2 separate regions of the Homo sapiens genome follow, and region 1 is linked to region 2. Evidence: promoter capture Hi-C in 16 types of primary human blood cells and fetal thymus (Javierre and others, 2016). All regions are on one chromosome and are shown on one strand. The core of a region is centred on a gene start or on the middle of the fragment in contact, and the rest is flanking DNA. Distances in the headings are between cores, read along the strand shown. Region 1 holds the start of NMT1 (N-myristoyltransferase 1). Region 2 holds the start of FMNL1-AS1 (FMNL1 antisense RNA 1).

The links. Contacts are between HindIII fragments. The CHiCAGO score rates a contact against its expected background, and 5 or more counts as called.
Region 1: the fragment with the promoter of NMT1 here is called in contact with the fragment with the promoter of FMNL1-AS1 in region 2 in 1 of 17 cell types (neutrophils); the score reaches 5.4 in neutrophils.

Annotation. Positions count from the first base shown.
Region 1 is chr17:45,059,287-45,063,467 of GRCh38, reverse strand. NMT1 (N-myristoyltransferase 1) reads right to left here and starts at 2,151. Exons shown (of 12, transcript NM_021079.5): 1 at 2,008-2,151. The coding sequence starts at 2,138. It also overlaps a transcript of DCAKD not described here. RefSeq lists enhancers at 1,711-1,790, 1,733-2,027, 1,881-2,240, 1,388-2,379, 2,341-2,520 and 1 more. The HindIII fragment of the contact is 9,198 bases long and covers 213-4,181 here.
Region 2 is chr17:45,240,520-45,243,019 of GRCh38, reverse strand. FMNL1-AS1 (FMNL1 antisense RNA 1) reads left to right here and starts at 1,250. Exons shown (of 3, transcript NR_186808.1): 1 at 1,250-1,909; 2 at 2,416-2,500. FMNL1 (formin like 1) reads right to left here. Exons shown (of 27, transcript NM_005892.4): 12 at 2,395-2,500; 13 at 1,790-1,891; 14 at 1,386-1,638; 15 at 874-1,173; 16 at 555-679. RefSeq lists an enhancer at 1,140-1,858. The HindIII fragment of the contact is 17,531 bases long and covers 1-2,500 here.

The DNA of each region.
Region 1 (4,181 bases), core at 902-3,401, 180 kb after region 2:
TCTGGAATGACTTTCACATTCACCAACTCTCATCTGTGATTCAGATCTCTACTCAGGAGAGCTTCACTTTCCCTTCTTCCTGTTCCTACTTCCTCTTTCTCAGCTCTTCCATTTTTAGGAATATCAAACTTCAAAAGAAGACTTTTATTACATTAGATCTGTTGTGAGTTACAGCAACAGAACAGTCTTATAAAAACTAAATTTGGCAAGCTTCCTATTCCTCTACTTTCTTCCTGTGATTTTTTTTTTTTTTTTTTTTTTTTGAGTCGGAGTCTCGCTCTGTCGCCCAGGCTGGAGTGCAGTGGCGTGATCTCAGCTCACTGCAAGCTCTGCCTCCTGGGTTCACGCCATTCTCCTGCCTTAGCCTCCCGAGTAGTTGGGACTACAGGCGCCCGCCACCACGCCCGGCTAAATTTTTTGTATTTTTAGTAGAGATGGGATTTCACAGTGTTAGCCAGGATGGTCTCGATCTCCTGACCTCGTGATCTGCCTCCCAAAGTACTGGGATTACAGGCATGAGCCACCATGCCCGGCCCTTCCTGTGATTTTTAATGCCGGCTGAAGAACATAAAAGCTAGATCTTTTAACCTAAGATTTACCACAAGCAGATTATAAACCACTTAAATACAGTCATGCTTCACTGAACGTCAGGCATATGTGCTGGGAAATGCATGGTTAGGTGATTTTTGCCTTGCCAACATTATAGGGTGTACTTACACAAATCTAGATGGTATAGCCTACTAAATGCCTAGGCTATATGGTGTACATTACAGTAACATGCTATACAGGTTTGTAGCCTAGGAGCAATAGGCTGCTGCATGTTACTGAGTACTGCAGGCAACTATAATACAATGGTAAGTATTTGTGTATCTAAGCATACCTAAACATAGAAAGGATACAATAAAAATATGTACTATAATCTTGTGGGACCATCTCTTCTACGCAGTCCTTGGTCTTTATACCTTTATATCTGCACTGCCACCAATACTGCGAATAACAAGCTGGCTACGAAAATCAGACTACCTCAGACTCAGCAAGTTATACACCCAAAAATCTCTCACGACTTTCAGTTTAAAAATATATCTACAAATATAGACAGGAAGATGGGGAGAGACAGCGTGAGTGCCAGTGCCAGGCACTAACCATGTGAAGAAAGATGAATAAGCTGTGGCTTACAGAAGTAAAAACTAATTTGGGAAAAGAATTCAACATTCAAATGCCTGGTGTGTTTCTTCATCCCTAGGAACAAATAGTAACTAATGGCAAGACCCTAAAGTACAGGATAGGCAGTATGGAGCCCGAGGATTCCAAATACTCTCCAAGAAACAACATCGCTCATTTCTTGAAGCCTGGGGCTGCTCTGCAAAGGTAACAAGGCAAAGATGTTCGAAGACTTAATTATATTAATATATCGTTCAGGATACTTATGGATTATTTGGAGCAATGGAAACTATGTAAATCAAAGCATTACCATACCGTTAATTACATAGGTTTATAAGGTGAGTTTATATTTTGGGATTCTCTGGTAGTGATATTTTACAATATAATTATACATACAGTTTGTATAGTCTGATGAGTTTCCTCACTGAGGGTGAACTGCTGCGAAATGTTTTATGATTCGTTTATTGCTAGTCACGTTGTTCAAACAACACGTCTATAAGTAACGTTCCCTTTGAACTGTACTGTTACTAGACTGTCCTGTGTTGTACCATCGAAAACCATCGTCCAACATGCTCTTTTCCCAGGAATGGCCTGAAGCACACGAGTGGAACACTGCATAGAACTTTTATATAATAAAAGTACTGAACGTCTCCGGCCCTTAATATCCAGAGCACCCACCCTTGGTAAATGACAAAGGCAATAACCAATCGCCAGGCAGAATCCTAGTGACTTAGCCAATAAGAACATGAGGGTGGGGCTAGACTAAGCTCCCGGTGACTTCCCCGCACCCCAGAGACCCAGGTTGTGGGAGGCTGGACGGGAATTGGACTCCGAGGATTTCGTTACCCCCGGTTGTAGCTGTTGTCCTCCTCATTCTCGCAATCGCTGCAGTGCTCATGGCCGTTCCCGTTCCCTTCCATCATCTGCGGCAGCGGAGGTGCCGGCGGCTTCACTGCTGTCTCACTCTCGTCCGCCATCTTGAGTTGCGAGAGCAGGGCTCCGCGCCCCACTACATGGGGGGTTCCTATTGGACAAGGGGAATTTGCGCTGCATTCTGGGTTTTGTAGTTTTTCTGGCGAAGCGAGCTGCCACTAGGAGCGACTCTTTCCCAGGAAACTGACTACAATACCCAGGAATCACGAGGGACGGCTCCGGTCGGATTAAGAGGCGGGGCCACTGATACCCGGAAGCCTAGGCATTCGGCCACGCTTTGAGGAAAGAAGGGGCGCAAGGTTGGTGGGACCGACCCTTGGGAACCGGGCGGCCGCCTGGCATGATGGGAGTTGTAGTTCGATGCTGGTTTAGGGTTTCAGGCGTGGAGGTTCCAAAATCCGAGGTTTGATTTCAGCCTGCCCTTGCCAGTGCCTGGGCCGCTGGGAGCCGTTATTGGCTGCCGTTAAGGACCGTTACGTTTCCCGGGTAAGTGAAAGGGCCTGAGGCCCGCGGGTGCTACCTGCCTGGAGCCGGAATGCCCCAGGCCTTCTTAGAGTGGGCTTTTCCGCAAGAAGCCTAGTTGACTCCTGGCCGCCTTCCTCACTCGGGAGTCTGGGCAACCTGCGGTCATTGGCAGTTCAAGGTCTCATGAGAGGCAGTGGATTTTTTTGTGCGAAGCACTGACCCTAAGCCAGGAGACCACACTGCTAGGGAGGCAGGGCTCGCCGCCTCATCTTGGCCTCCAGGTACTTATCTTCGCCAAGCTCTTTCGCGCACACGTGGTCCCTTTAATTCCCCACAAGAATTTTCCACAACGACCCTTTTTTTCTTTTCTTTTCTTTCTTTCTTTCTTTTTTCTTTTTTAAATACGGCCGCCTTCTGTCGCCCAGGCTGGAGCGCAATGGCTCAAGATCACAGCTCACTGCAATCAAGGTATCCTCCCACCTCAGCCTCCCAAGTACCTAGGACTATAGGCATGAGCCACCACACCCGGATAATTTATATATTTTTTGTAGAGACGAGGGTCTCGCCTTGTTGCCCAGGCTGGTCTCGAACTCCTGGCCTCTAAGGATCTTCCTACCCCAACCCCGCAAAGTGCTGGGATTACAGACGTGAGCCACGGCACCCAGCCCACATCAACTCTTTCTTTAATAAGTGCCAGACTCTGTAGTAAGGCATTTCGTACATTATCTCATTTAATCCTCTCAACAAGTCTACAATATAGGTCCTATTATTATTATTCAACCTTTGTTTTGTTTTGTTTTGTTTTGAGACGGAGTCTCTCTCTGACTCCCAGGCTGGAGTGCAGTGGTGCGATCTCGGCTCACTGCAACCTTCGCCTCCTGGGTTCAAGCGATTCTCTTGCCTCGGCCTCCTGAGTAGCTGGGATTAAAGGCGCACGCCACCACACCTGGCTAATTTTTGTATTTTTAGTAGAGACGGGGTTTCACCATGTTGGTCAGGCTGGTCTCGAACTCCTGACCTCGTGATCTGCCCATTTCGGCCTCCCAAAGTGCTGGGATTAGAGGTGTGAGCCACCGTACCTGGCCATATTGACCTTTTTGACAGATGAAAAAATGTGGCCCTGAGAGGTTGGTAAATTGCACAGTCACATAGCTGGTTAAGTGGCAAATCGGTATACAAATCCAGATCTGTGTGCCCCAGGCCCTCTGAATTCTTTGCCACCATAAAAGTCCCATTTTCTGATACACTATTCACTCAAGGAAATCAGTTACTAAAAGGTAACTGTGACTCCAGTGCGTATTCTATATCAGGGGAAAAAAGGTAACTGCCACATTTTAATCTGTTTTTAACCTTGATTGAATGTTTCAGTCCCTGAGTCTCACTCTTTTGATTGAGTAATCTCGCCTAAGTGCCCAAAGACATGGTTCCCATTCTTGGAAATTTCCTATTCGGGTTGAGTGTGGTGGGTGATGAGAGGACTAATTCTTACCATCAGAGTGCTCCATGGCCAAAAAGGGAAATGATCTTTGCCTTTGGGAAAGATCTCAACATGGGAAGAATGGCAGGGCGGGAAGAAACAGTTCCCATCTGACTCAGGGAAAGAAAACACAAATAAAACACAG
Region 2 (2,500 bases), core at 1-2,500:
GGCCACCAGCAGAGAACCAGTAACCCAGCCTGACCACAGGCCCTGATGGGAGGCACAGGGGAAGCACAGGGAGCCTGGAGGAGGAGGGCCGCCTAACCCGGGGGATCCAGACTTGGGGCCACAAGAGCTAAAGGAAGAGCTGAACTGGCCAGCGGTAAAAAGGAGAAAGGAAAAGACATTCCAGGCAGAGGAAACAGAATGGAACAATGGCCTAGAGGCAAGAGAATACATCCTTTTGGAAAACTGGAAGTGGAATCAGGAGGGCTGAAGCCTTGGCTGCCTGTGGGAAAGTGGAAGGAAAGAGGCCTGGAGGCAGAAGAAGTGGGGTGAGGGGAGGCACCCCTCTGCAGGGATGGAGGGGAAGGCGTTTGGGAAAGCAGGATTCTGCCTGTTAGAGGTATTGGTCCAGTCTGGCTTAATGCCCATCCCTGGGCCTCCCCCTCCTCATCTGTGAAATGGCTTGGAGAAAATGACTACCCCCAGGGCCCAGCCTGATCCAGGCAACTCCCCTCTTCCTCCGGTGCCCACATGGGGAGCCAGGCAGGGCCACTCACCTGCAGCACCTTCTCATCATTGAGCTCTGTGAAGACAGTGCCGGTGATCTGGCTGGGTTTCAGTGCCACCCAGTTCAAGAGTGGCATTCGGAACTTAGTCTGGATGGGCTTCTTGGCCTTCACTCCTGGGACGGGGGTTTGGGGGCAGTGGTGAGCACTGGGGGTACTACTGGAGGGAACCTGGGCCCAGGGAGGGCTGATGGGGCAGCCAGGAGGCAGCAGGAGGCCCCCAGGCAGAGGACCCTGGAGGACACTGAGGCCCAGGCCCCTCCCTCCATCTCCCCCCAGCCCCGGGCCCAAGGTGGTCCACTCCACTCACCTGGGCCCAATTCTGAGTCGCGTCTTCCTAGGGCATCAGGAGGACCTCCGGGAGGCGGCGGCGGCGGCGGCGGCGGCGGAGGCACCGGCCCGTCAGTGCCCGGAGGTGGTGGCGGTGGCGGGGGTGGGGGCGGCAGGTCTCCGGGCAGCGGCGGCGCAGGCGGGGGCTCCGGGCTGCCAGGGAGAGGCGGGGCCTGTGGGGGCGCAGAGGGCGGGGCTTCCTGCGGGGAGGGGAGGCCGGGCAGTGGGGGCGGCGGCGGTGGCGCTGCTCCGGGAGCCGGCTCTGCTGCAGGTGCGAGATCTGAGCCAGCGAGGGCGCGGCGTGGGGGAGGCGCGAGTCAGCTCCTTGACTTGGGTGGGCCCCTCTCCGCCTCTCCGCTCTACGCATGCGCTCCTACCTGAGCCGAGCCTACAATCCAAACCTCCCTCGCCCAACTCTGCCCGCCACAGATGCCCCTGGGCTCCCCTCCAGACCCTGCCCCGCATCCCCGCCAGCCTGAAGCTCCTGCGCACCTGGGCTGGGGGAGCCGGTCGGCACCCCCGGAGTCGGAGCATCACCGCCGCTCGGAGTTGCCACAGCGACGGGGAGGATCTCGATGGAGACAGCATCCCCCGGCCCCCGCAGAATACGGATTAACCCCTTCTCCTCCAGCTCCTCCACCTTCAGCTCCAGGGCCGAGGGCCGCGTCGGGGCAGCGGGAGGCGCTTTCTCAGGCTCTGGGGGACGCCTGGAGGGCCCCATGGCGGTCGATTCGCTGAAGCGCTCCTACGAACCCCACGGGAGGGGTCAGTGCCCACCAGCAGGCTCCTTGGCACCAAGCCTCCATCTTCTTCCCGGGGTGGAGGGAGATGTCAAGCCTAGAAGCCTCAGCTGGCCTGTTCTTGGGCGCCTGGCCTACCACCCGCCCCAGCCTCACCCGCAGGGTCTCCAACTCCTTGCGCGCCTGGCTTAGCTGTTTTTCCAGTTCTGCAATCTTGGCCATGGATTCGTTCTCCGCGTCCCGAAGCCGCTCTGTCAGCTGTAGCACCAGCACATGGTGAGCCCCGACCCGCAGCCCGGCACTGGCACCGCCGGTGAGGGGGCGGCATCAGGCATGCCTGCCTGGAAGACTGGGGGAGGCTCCCAGATCCGCTCAGCCCAGGTGCCAAGGGTGGGCCGAGCCTGGCACTCGAACCCAAGCAAATAAGGAGAGGAAACCAAGGTACCAGTGATGCGGGAGGTGGAGGGAGAGGAGGAGACTGAGCTGGGAGGGGCCCCAGGCACCCATTTCAGTTCACCTGGGGTCTGAGCCTGGGTAGAGGAGGGGCCTGTCAGTGAGGGTGCTCACCCACACTCATTGAGAAAGACACCCAACAGATTCAGGCTTTGGATTCAGGCCAGGCTCTGGGGCCAGGCAGGCAGCACCTCCAATGCACAATTATAACACTGTCTGCTGCCCAGTGCCCATGCTTGCGTGGCCCTGTGGCCCGTGTGCCCTGTGGGCCTATGATGTGCTGGGCTGGGGTCAGGACCCACTCTCACCAGCGCCACTTGCTCCTGCAGTTCCTCCATGTGCTCCAGCACAGCGTTCTTGGTCTCTGTGTCCTCCAGCAGCGCCCCCACATCAAAAATATTGTCCAGGTACGCC